3 separate regions of the Homo sapiens genome follow, and regions 1 and 3 are each linked to region 2. The links are contacts of gene promoters, found by promoter capture Hi-C in blood cells and fetal thymus (Javierre and others, 2016). All regions are on one chromosome and are shown on one strand. The core of a region is centred on a gene start or on the middle of the fragment in contact, and the rest is flanking DNA. Distances in the headings are between cores, read along the strand shown. Region 1 overlaps RIMS1 (regulating synaptic membrane exocytosis 1). Region 2 holds the start of SLC17A5 (solute carrier family 17 member 5). Region 3 has its middle 10 kb from the start of KCNQ5.

What was found. Contacts are between HindIII fragments. The CHiCAGO score rates a contact against its expected background, and 5 or more counts as called.
Region 1: a contact is called between a fragment that was not itself captured here and the fragment with the promoter of SLC17A5 in region 2, in 1 of 17 cell types (total B cells). The highest score is 5.5, in total B cells.
Region 3: a fragment that was not itself captured here is called in contact with the fragment with the promoter of SLC17A5 in region 2 in 1 of 17 cell types (naive CD8 T cells); the score reaches 5.8 in naive CD8 T cells.

Annotation. Positions count from the first base shown.
Region 1 is chr6:72,388,122-72,391,734 of GRCh38, reverse strand. It overlaps RIMS1 (regulating synaptic membrane exocytosis 1), which reads right to left. Exons shown (of 34, transcript NM_014989.7): 30 at 999-1,137. Among named protein-coding and RNA genes, the nearest start is that of KCNQ5, 230 kb to the left of the region's middle. RefSeq lists a silencer at 821-1,021. The HindIII fragment of the contact is 1,949 bases long and covers 576-2,524 here.
Region 2 is chr6:73,651,942-73,655,759 of GRCh38, reverse strand. It overlaps SLC17A5 (solute carrier family 17 member 5), which reads left to right and starts at 1,768. Exons shown (of 11, transcript NM_012434.5): 1 at 1,768-1,967. The coding sequence starts at 1,874. RefSeq lists an enhancer at 564-653 and a silencer at 1,653-2,322. The HindIII fragment of the contact is 4,556 bases long and covers 613-3,818 here.
Region 3 is chr6:72,610,033-72,613,136 of GRCh38, reverse strand. No RefSeq gene overlaps it. Among named protein-coding and RNA genes, the nearest start is that of KCNQ5, 10 kb to the left of the region's middle. The HindIII fragment of the contact is 1,568 bases long and covers 467-2,034 here.

The DNA.
Region 1 (3,613 bases), core at 301-2,800, 1.3 Mb after region 2:
CCTTACTGGAAACATGCATAACAAGCCAATCATTTGACCAACTAAACAGAGACCAACTAGTTTCAGGAATGGGAAGGAATATCACAAACAGTAACTTGGCATAATTCTGTTAAATTTTCTAAACAATATAGAAAAATTCCAGTAAAGACAAGAAATTAGAAATATCAAATTGGTATATGAGTAATGTGAATGGTAATGAACAAATAATTATGGAAAATTTATATGTGGTGAATCTCCATGTAATCCAAAACAACACATTAATTACTTATTTGTAAGATCCACTACCTCAATAAAAATTCAATTTTACCAGAAATATTCTCAAGCATAGGAAGAAGCAGGTTTTGTGCAGGATCCATATGAAATGGTAAAAAAAAAAAAAAAAGAAAAAGAATCGAAAAGAGTAAATTTTTAAAAATCGTATTCTATTTTTTCAGAATTAACTAAAACATTTTAGTCAGAAAAATAATGAAGCTGATAGACCCTGGATTATTTCCTAAGGTAAAAATGAGTCAGCAATGTTTTAAAAACAAGAAAATGTAACTTACATATATGACAGTGTTAGACTTAGAAAAGCTTAGGGTCCAAAATAGCTTGGAGAAAATTAAGAAAATGGGAAATCAGTTCCTTACTTATAAATTTTAACTTGGACTTTGGTGACAGGGACAGACTATGAGTTTCCCATATGAAAGAGTCCATTACCTGTGGCATTTGTACACTAAACATCCAGTAAGGAACTAGTCTGGGCTTTCCTAGATGCAAGAAATCAATTTGTTCATGTGGACTCAGAATTTCTTCACCCTTTGAAAGGTATGAATGACCAGGTGTAGAGGTGTGTCCATGTGTACTTACTTATAAGCCATCAGGGTGGTTTAAAATGGATGGTTGAACTTCTGATTAAATAGAGAAGCTGCACAGTAACACTCAGTGGCTTTGTTATCTTACTGATTAGTACACAATTCCTGGTTCCACAGCCATGCAGACGTGCTGACAGCACTTACTTGCCCTCAGAGCTGTAACTGTTGATGCTGCCATCAGTAGACTCTCGGCTCGGCTGCCTTACCATCTTTCTCATTTCAGCTGCCATGCCTGTTTCTGTGCTTCTCTGGATGGTACTTTTTAACTTTTTGTGGCCCGACTCTGACAGGAGAGAGTAAAAGAAACTCTAAGTTTTATTTAGACAGTTTACTCCTGAATATCAATTGATCCTGCAAATACAATAGTTAATTTTACACATAATTACAAATTTAATCAGAAAAATAGTAACCTAAGGGAGTACTTTGCTTGATTCAGGCTCCTTGCCAAAGTATGCTTGGCTAAGGGGAGTACCACTGGATGCTATGCCATGGCCACAGTTTCAGTGACTGCCTAAATCTCAATCAGCCAAAATGAAATCATTGTATTATTGATGGTGACAACTTCAATGAAAATCTGAATTTGGCACCCAACTGTTCTGTGGAAAGATAATGGTGAACAATCTAATAGGTTTCTCCTAATACGGAATTCACTAAATGTGTATGAATAGTCCCAAAGGACAGGTCGTGTTCTTTTAAGGAGAAGGTGCATTTGGAACCCAGTTTGAAAAATACCACAGTTTTACTGTCACGTATCAGCAATCCTCATGAAGAGAAACTAGTATTTTAATTGATGATTTTTGCAGCACTTTAACATACACTATATAATATTTATACTTATTTCTACTCCATATAGATTATGGAGTTAGGTGTAACAGGTTTTATCTTAATTCAAAGACTACACAGCTACCTCATGGCCTTTTGACTCAGCTGCATGAGTTCTGACTGGCAGTTTGGGGTGTACACCTCCATTTGTACTGGGAATTACATACATTTGCATTTCAGTTCTTGATAAGCTCAGAGGAATTTTCTTGAGCCACTTTGAAATGCACTAACCAGCATTCTATTCATAGCATGGAAATAAATTCTAAAATATTTACTTGCTTACATGTATAAGCAGTATCAATAGGTTAGGAAAACTGTTAGACTTTATTCCATCTATACGTCCTATATAAATTTCTGGTTTTCGCTTTAGTTTCTGTATAGTATCATATAATACCCATTAATAATATATGAAAAATGCTCTATATACATAATTACATACATAACTACTATATAAACACATTAACTTTTCAATCCACATAAAACCTTTACAAAGCAGGTACCTAAATACACTCTTAGATAAGCCATTTGAAACACTGCATTTTTTCCCTCTCATTTTTGGTCACTGGATTCCTTTTGTAAATTGTCTAATCAAAGATATAATAGGTTATGCTATATGAACTTAATGCTGATCCTTCCTACACATTTAGTATGTTCATTAAAATTTTTATTTTTTATTGTTCTTAACCTTTTTATTGCTATTTTTGCTTACAAAGACAATATATGTATATTACAAAATATTTAAATGTTACAGAAATTGCCAACATTGAATGCCCCCTATAATTTCACCACTCAAGGAAGACAATGGTTAGTAATTTGGGAACTATTTTTTCTTTATACCTATACAAGCTTCTTCACTTGGCTACTGTGATCCACATTCTCCGTTTTTCCTTCTTTGACATTGGTTGTTACTTCCCAGTCTCTTCTGCTGGATTTTTCCTCTTTGAGATTTTTAGAAATAGACAATCCCTAGACCTCAGGCCTCAGACCTTTTGCTTTCTTCTACACTTACTTCCTAGGTGATCTCTAACATAGCTTTAACATAGCTAACAAAGCCACCTATGCCCTTGTGCCTCCCAAATATACATCAAGGTCTTAACCTTTCCCATAAATGCTGAAGTCATTAATCCAATTGCCTAGTAGCTCCATTTACAGATCTGATAGGCACTTCAACATTAACATATCCAAGACAGAACTCTTCCCCACCTCCACCACACTACCACCTCCCACTACTAAATCCTCCTCCCACAGTAAATGGTACTACAATTCACTTGGGTGATAAGGCCTAAATCCTTGTAATCATCTTTGATTCCTCTAACACACCCCACACCCAATCCATCAGCGAATCCTCTTGGCTTTGCCTTCAAAATGCATCACAAGTCTGGTCATTCTTCTTCCTCTCCACAGCTCCAACCCTATGTCCAGACACTATCATCACTCAAAAGAGCAGTGCCATACCCGTACAGCTAGTGTCACTGCTTCTATTCCTTTCCTCCTCAGAATATTCTTGACATAACAGCCATGGTGAGTCTTTAAAAATGTAAATCTGAATATATCATTCCCCTGCTCAAGATCTTATAATGATTAATCACCAAAGTAAAATGAAAATCCAAAATTGTTATCGTGGCCCAGGAAATGCCATATCATCTGGTCCTTGGACACCTCACATCTCATCTTCTGCCCCTCATTCCATATGATCAATGCTCTCCAGTCACACTGTCTTCCCTGCATTTCCTCAAGCCTGCAAGCATGCTGCTTCTGGGCCTTTTTTACTTCTGTTTGTCTCTTCTGACTTTCTTGCCTTGCTCCTTATTCAGATTTCTGCTTCAAGACAGGCTGTCTCCTCAGGGAGGCTTTGTATAGTATCCCTTTGCTGTGCTTTATTTTTCTTCACAGCACTGCTTCATCTGCCATTAAACCTTTATCTGTTTGTGGTCTGT
Region 2 (3,818 bases), core at 519-3,018:
GAAACAGCCCCAATTGGGTAGTTTGGGTAATAAAGTTTTGGCTTTCACAATATAGGCTGGCCAACTCGACCCAAAACAGATGATGGTGCACATGCCTGGAGACCCAGGAGGACCTGTGGTGCAGATGAAGTCTGAGGACACTCTGCTGGAGAAGTCTCCCTTGCTTGGGCAAGAGAAGTGGGGGAGTCGGATTTTTTATTCTAGATAGGCCTTCAACTGATTGAAGGAAGCCCACCCAGATTATGGAAGGCAGCCATCTTTACCCAGAGTTCAATGATTTTAGTGTTAACCTCATCCAAAGACAACCAGCAAGTTAACACATAAAATTAACCATCACACCAGATCTGCTGAATCTGAATCTACATTTTAAAAGGATTTGCCAGGTGACTCTGCATAATCCAGTTTGAAAATTGCATTTTTCTACAACCCTTAGAGAGTGTAAAAATCTACATGGTAATTCAGTAACTCAGAAACAAGGCTTGATTTGCTGCTTTAACTTGAGAACTTTTCTAGCATTTACTGATCTGGAGGTAGGGATGCCTACAGAAATCCTCGCCCTCCCTTCTAGGTAAAGGACCCTCCCCTTTGTTCTCACGTGAACCTCACTAAGCTTCTAACCTGGTTTACTGAATTAGTGGCTTGTGGGTCTTCCCTGTCTACACCAAACTCTCCGAGAGCATCTACATCTTATTTTCTACCTCCACAGAGACAGCCTTTATTGGCGGATCCAGATCTGCCCTGCCAAGGCAAGCTGGGTTTTCCTAGTTTCACTTTCAGAGTCCGCAAATGCTAGCACAATCTATCCAAATTCTATCGTGGAGATAAAGCATGCACACATACATCAGAGGATTCCATAGGTCGAACCATATGAAACTACCTATGTTGATTACTTTTACCTATAAAACCAGCAACATCATAGGACTCAACAAATTTCCATTGCTGTTTTTCCGCCTAAAAGCTATTTTAGGACCAGGAGCAGTGGCTCACGCCTGTAATCCCAGCACTTTGGGAGGCCGAGGAGGATTGCTTGAGCCCAGGAGTTCGAAACCAGCTTGGGCAATATAATAAGACCAAGCCTCTACAAAAATAAAAAGTAGAAACAAAATTAGCCAGATGTGGTGGCATGCTCCTGTAGTCCCAGCTACTTGGGGGAGCTGAAGAGAATCGCTTGAGTCCAGGAGTTGGAGGTTGCAGTGAGCTGCGATTGCGCCACTGCATTCCAGCTTGGGCAACAGAGCAAGACCCTGCCTGGGAGAAAAAAAAAAAAAAAAAAAAGCTATTTTAGGGACAATATGCCGCCACAGTCACGAGGTAAATATGCCGCCACAGTCACGAGGTAGATCGTACAAAGGTTGCTAACAGTATGGCAACTGACCGCTAACAAGCGAATGTCAAGTTGTGAAATGCACACCACCCACTTCCCTAGTTCGGTCGAAGCCCTCCCCTTAATTATGTGCAATTCAAGTCCCCACTGCCCGCCCGCAAGCCCCCACTCATCCTCGCTGCGGGCAGGGTGGCCCCTGCACTTTACAAGGGGGTGCAGGAGCGGGAGACGGTCGTCCGAACACCGGCTCCCCGGCATGCGTAGACCGGCGGGCGGAGCGGGCTCACTTTGCGCCAATCCTACGAGAACTCCCAGAACTCCGCTTCCCTAGTCCAACCCAAGCCAGAGTTGCCCACACCTAAGATGGCGGCGGGGGCGGAGTCGGCGCGGCCGCCTCTGGGCGGGACCGCGGGGACTAGACGTGGCCGCGGGGCGGTGTCATCGCCCCCGCCCCGCCCGGTCCAGCCAGCTCGGCCCGGGGGCTTCGGGCTGTCGGGCCGGCGCTCCCTTCTCTGCCAGGTGGCGAGTACACCTGCTCACGTAGGCGTCATGAGGTCTCCGGTTCGAGACCTGGCCCGGAACGATGGCGAGGAGAGCACGGACCGCACGCCTCTTCTACCGGGCGCCCCACGGGCCGAAGCCGGTAAGCGGCGGGGTCGTCCAGGGGCTTCGAGTGGGCAGCGGTACCGGGGGCGGCGGTCTCTGGGCCGGCATGGCCCGGGTACCCGCACCCTGCGCCGGCGGGACCGGAGCTGCTCAGGCGCGAGGGGACATTAAGAGGGGAGCCCGTTCAGAGTGCCGCTCAGTCCCGCCTGCCTCGGTGCGCAGAAGCCCCTCGGGAACCCCGGGGGCCGCGACCGTGATCGCGGAGCCGAGCCGGGGCCTCGGCAGGTGCAGCCCCACCGGGCGGGGGCGGGGGCGGGGGCGGGGGCGGGGGAGCGGCGGTGCAGCCGGCGCTGAGCTGGTGGTTATTTTGGGTAGTGCTGAGCAAGGGACCCAGTGGAAGAACGAACTGGGAGAGAATCATCAAATGAATGGGCTAAGGTCCGAGCGGAGGACCCCGGTGTAAGAGCAAACTGGAGGAGAAACCTGCAGATCAGTAGGCAGAGGGCTGTCCTTCCCTGTCACCGCTAGGTTTCCGCCACTGCGTATCCGCCAGCATGTGACCTGGTAGCTTCTTAGGCGGGGAGGGAAGACAAAAAAGGACTGGAGTTAACATTTGTGAGTATGCAGAGGGCAACTATTGTATAACCCAGCTGATATCTTGACATTGTGCAGTAAGAGACTAAAAACATCGAGGACATTTTTTTTCCGTCTGGCAGTCTATGATTTAAGTTAGGAAAAGGTTCAGTTATCCTCAAGATACCTATGGAGTTCTAAAGTAATTTGCCAAAGGTCTTGGAACAAATCGAAAAGCAGGTACGTCATAAAGCATCTTCCCTGAATTTGAGAAAATTAAAATATTTTGCTATTTGACACTTTTGTAATATAGTTTATTTAAAAGTAACGAAAACTAAAGAACAAATCAGTTTGAATGCATTCTATAGTTTCAAAGATCTGTGCGTGAGAAAGAGTTGTGTTGGAAATTTGACTTTGGCTAACCCAGAATTGTATAGTTTCTATATTTTTATTTGTTTTTAATGTTACCAGATGGTGGCAGTAGAGGTGGCAACCTTATAGCTCCATCTGGCAGCCGGGAGCTTATTTTAGTCAACACAAACTGTAAATACCATACCATAGTTACGTTTTACCTGGAAGTCGGACTTAGTTCCATAAACTGATCATTTTCTGTGGCTTGTAGTGTTCAAATTGTATAATATTCCTCATAAAATAATATAGAAATACAGAAATAAAAGTTATAATAAAGATATTTGCCAGAGATTATTACATTGTTACAATTGAAAAATATGTATATGTATAATCAAAATTTAGCACAAATGTTAAACATTATTCTCAGGAAAATGCAGATTAAAATTACAACGAGGCACTATACACCCACTAGAATAGCTAAAATCCAAAAGGCTGATAATACCAAATGTTAGCAGAGATGTGGATAGAAAAGTTATACATCTCAATAAAGATTGAGATGGACAAATGTATACATTTATCACGTAAATTATACTTCAATAAAGTTGATTTTTAAAAAAGTAGCTTATAGCATCCCTTTTAAAAACAATCCCTACTTGATTCATGTGTTGAGTGTATGGATCTTATGGTACTGGCCCTGTCCTTCCTGGCTTTAGGTGGCTACGTTTGTTACAACCATTTCCTTTTTTATTTTCCCTCTTTACATACCCACTGGAGAGCAAGTGAAGTGGAAATAATAGTAACATACTGTTTTTGCTATTTAGAATATGATAAGTTTTATAGAGAAGGAGCATATATGGCAATTAAGAGAAGTATATAATGAGCCCCCATGTAACCAGCACCCAGATTAAAGTTATCAATTCATGGCCAGTCTTGCCTTATGCTCATACATACTGTGTATTTTGAA
Region 3 (3,104 bases), core at 1-2,500, 1.0 Mb after region 2:
AAAATCGAAAAATCGAAAGTGGAGCAATAAATACTAATACATATTTAAATATATTTTAAAATATGCTAAGGATTTGGAGTCATAAAGAAACTTATGAATTGTGGGATCCTGATTCCTGGCTGATTACCAAATCTCACTAAGTCTTTGTTTCTTTCATGTTTAAAGTGAGGATAATAATATCCTTATCACAGGACTTTTGGGGTAGCTAAAATAGTTTATGTAAAGGTCTTATCTTAGTGCTGACACATAATAAGTACTCAGTAAATGTTAACTACTACTAATATTTATGTATAACAAGATTTAGCTTGGGTTCCATTTGTGATTTAGCCTGCAATTTGAAATAATAGCTGATTAATTCTCTGAAACATTAGCTTCCATAATTGTTAATATTTAGCTGAAATTTAGCAGATACAAAAAAAAAAGTAATGTAAACTTGTAAAAAAAAATGGATTATATGAATAAAGCTTGAGATAACCCAGAAGAGAAACTTTAAGTTTTGCAGATGATCTCGTTCAGGTGACTATTTGTGAAGTTTAAAAGCAGATGAAAGCAACTATGTCTCATAGTGTACCAGGCTATGCAGTCATAGATGTATATTTTATTAAGGGCTACTAGATACAACTAAACAAAGTAAACCTTAATGTATAGAGTTTTGCATATCATTCTACTTTTAACAGCAATATTCAAATGGTAATGGATATTTAATCCTTTCATTCTAAAATATCTGTGATATTTCAGATGTCTGGTGAGAGCTGTTGAATTCATTATTCTAGAATATCTGTGAATTTATGATTCTAAAGTTTTTCTGAACGGCAGAGGTCTGAGAATTTGATGAAAGCCTTCAAAAAAGTTTTAAAAAACGTATAATTTTGCATACAATTACAACTTTTGAGGCTCACAGACTCTTGGAAATAATTTTTAAAAACCTAGCTAATCAATCCCAGATTATGGGCCCTTGGGCTGTAATTCTTAAAGGAATGAGTTGTTTTTTTAAACTTTTTGAGATGGAGTCTCATTCTGTTGCCCAGGCTGGAGTGCAGTGGTGCAATCTTGGCTCACTGCAACCTCCACGTTTCAAGCGATTCTCCTGCCTCAGCCTCCTGAGTAGCTGGGACTACAGGCACGCACCACCAAACCCGGCTAATTTTTGTATTTTAGAGACAGCGTTTCACTATATCAGCCGGGCTGGTCTCAAACTCCTGACCTCGTGATCTGCCTACCTCAGCCTCCCAAAGTGCTGGGATTACAGGCATGAACCACCACGCCCAGCCAAAGGAATGAATTTTACAAAGATTCTCTTGAGGATATCTTCAGGATGACTTATATGGGATATATGGGAAAATTTGGAATAGCTAGAACTTCCTCGACCTCCCTGGTAATCTGCATTATTTCTCATGATTTGGTTGGGAGTACCTTGATGACACTTCTATCAGGGAGGTACTAGGACAGCAAGGTTTGTGGTCACTATAAAGCCCTTGAACTGAGATTTTGGATCTTTGTTATAGGTCTTTCTGTTAGAAAACAGCCTTGAACTCTCATTACATTTTTCATATGGTTATATTATGGGATCACATTTACTCAGAATAATGGTGTTTCTATTCCAAATTAATCTTCCAGAGTTTGGATACTTTTTATTTTTTATTTTTTATTTTAGAGACAGGGTCTCAGGGTCTCACTCTGTTGCACAATTTGGAGTGCAGTGCTGTGATCATAGCTCACTGCAGCCTTGAACTCCTGGTCTCAAGCAATCTTCCCACCTCAGCCTCCTGAGTAGCTGGGACTACAGTGTCAAGCCACCACATCTAGCTTTTTTTTTTTCCTTCATTTTTTGTAGAATCGGCATCTCACTATGTTGCCCAGGCTTGTCTTGAACTCCTCCTCCCTTGGCCTCCCAAAATTCTGGGATTACAGGTGTGAGCCATGGCACCTGGCAGAGTTTGAATATTTTAAAGCCAAGAGCATGCATGTATGTGTAGTTTAGTGAGTGCATATATAAACACATATATATGTATTAATATAATTGCAATCTAAGCTTTAAAATATTGCCCACTAAAGCATACAAACTGCCATGAATCTACTCATGCAGTACAAGGGAAGACTATGAGTACAGCCAGAACCTCAATTCTGGAAAATATACTAAAGTCATCTCTATGCTTAAGGCTTTATCTCTGCCGCCTAACAGTACACTATCATGGGATATACTCATTTTTGTTTCAGTCATCTCTCAGGAATTGAAGTCTTGACCCATATCTTAAAATGGTGACTAGGGTCCTGTTACAGGTTTACCTACTTCCACAATGTCAATTGCCTGCCTGCCTACCTACTGAACCTCTGGATGTCATCTTGGCTCCAGCATTTCTGTGTTATACACATTGAATAACCTGCTAGTGCATAATTCTACAAAAAAGAATACACTCTTCTGCCTAGCAGACTATTTCCTGCCCACACCTGATGCTGAGGCCATTCTCCCCAGCCCTTGCCTGGACCCCTTGCCTGGGCTGTCAGTGTTCAGTTCTGCAGTGGCTAGCTGGGTCATGACTAATCATGCTTGAGTTTAGACCAAACCCCTATCTCATTCCCTTAATGAGAATTGTTTTAATTTATCCATTCCTCAATCCAACCTACAACTGCTGAGTTCCTACCACCTATGTTAAAACTGTAGAACAAACATTATCCCTACCTAATTCATGCCATAGTTTACTGTATTTTTTCGAAAGATTTAAAATATTTTTAGAGCAGACTTAAATACATAACATGGAATGATAGAAAGATTACCTAAAACTTGACAACCCCAAACCAACTAATATGTTTTATAAACATTTATTCATCTGGAGCTACTTCTTTACAACAGCGGTAATTTTGCCCCGCAGATGATATTTGCAATGTCCGGTGGTGTTTCTGGTTGGCTTAGTACATAGTATGGGGGAGGGTGTGGGAAACTGTTGCTACTGGCATCCAGGTTGTAGAGGCCGGGGATGCTGCTAAACATTCTACAACTTACAGGATAGCTCCCCACAAAAAAGGAATTATCCTGCCCAAAACGTCAATATTGCCAAAGTTGAGAAACCCTGCTTTAAACAAACTTTTTAGGTCAGCCTTTGAAG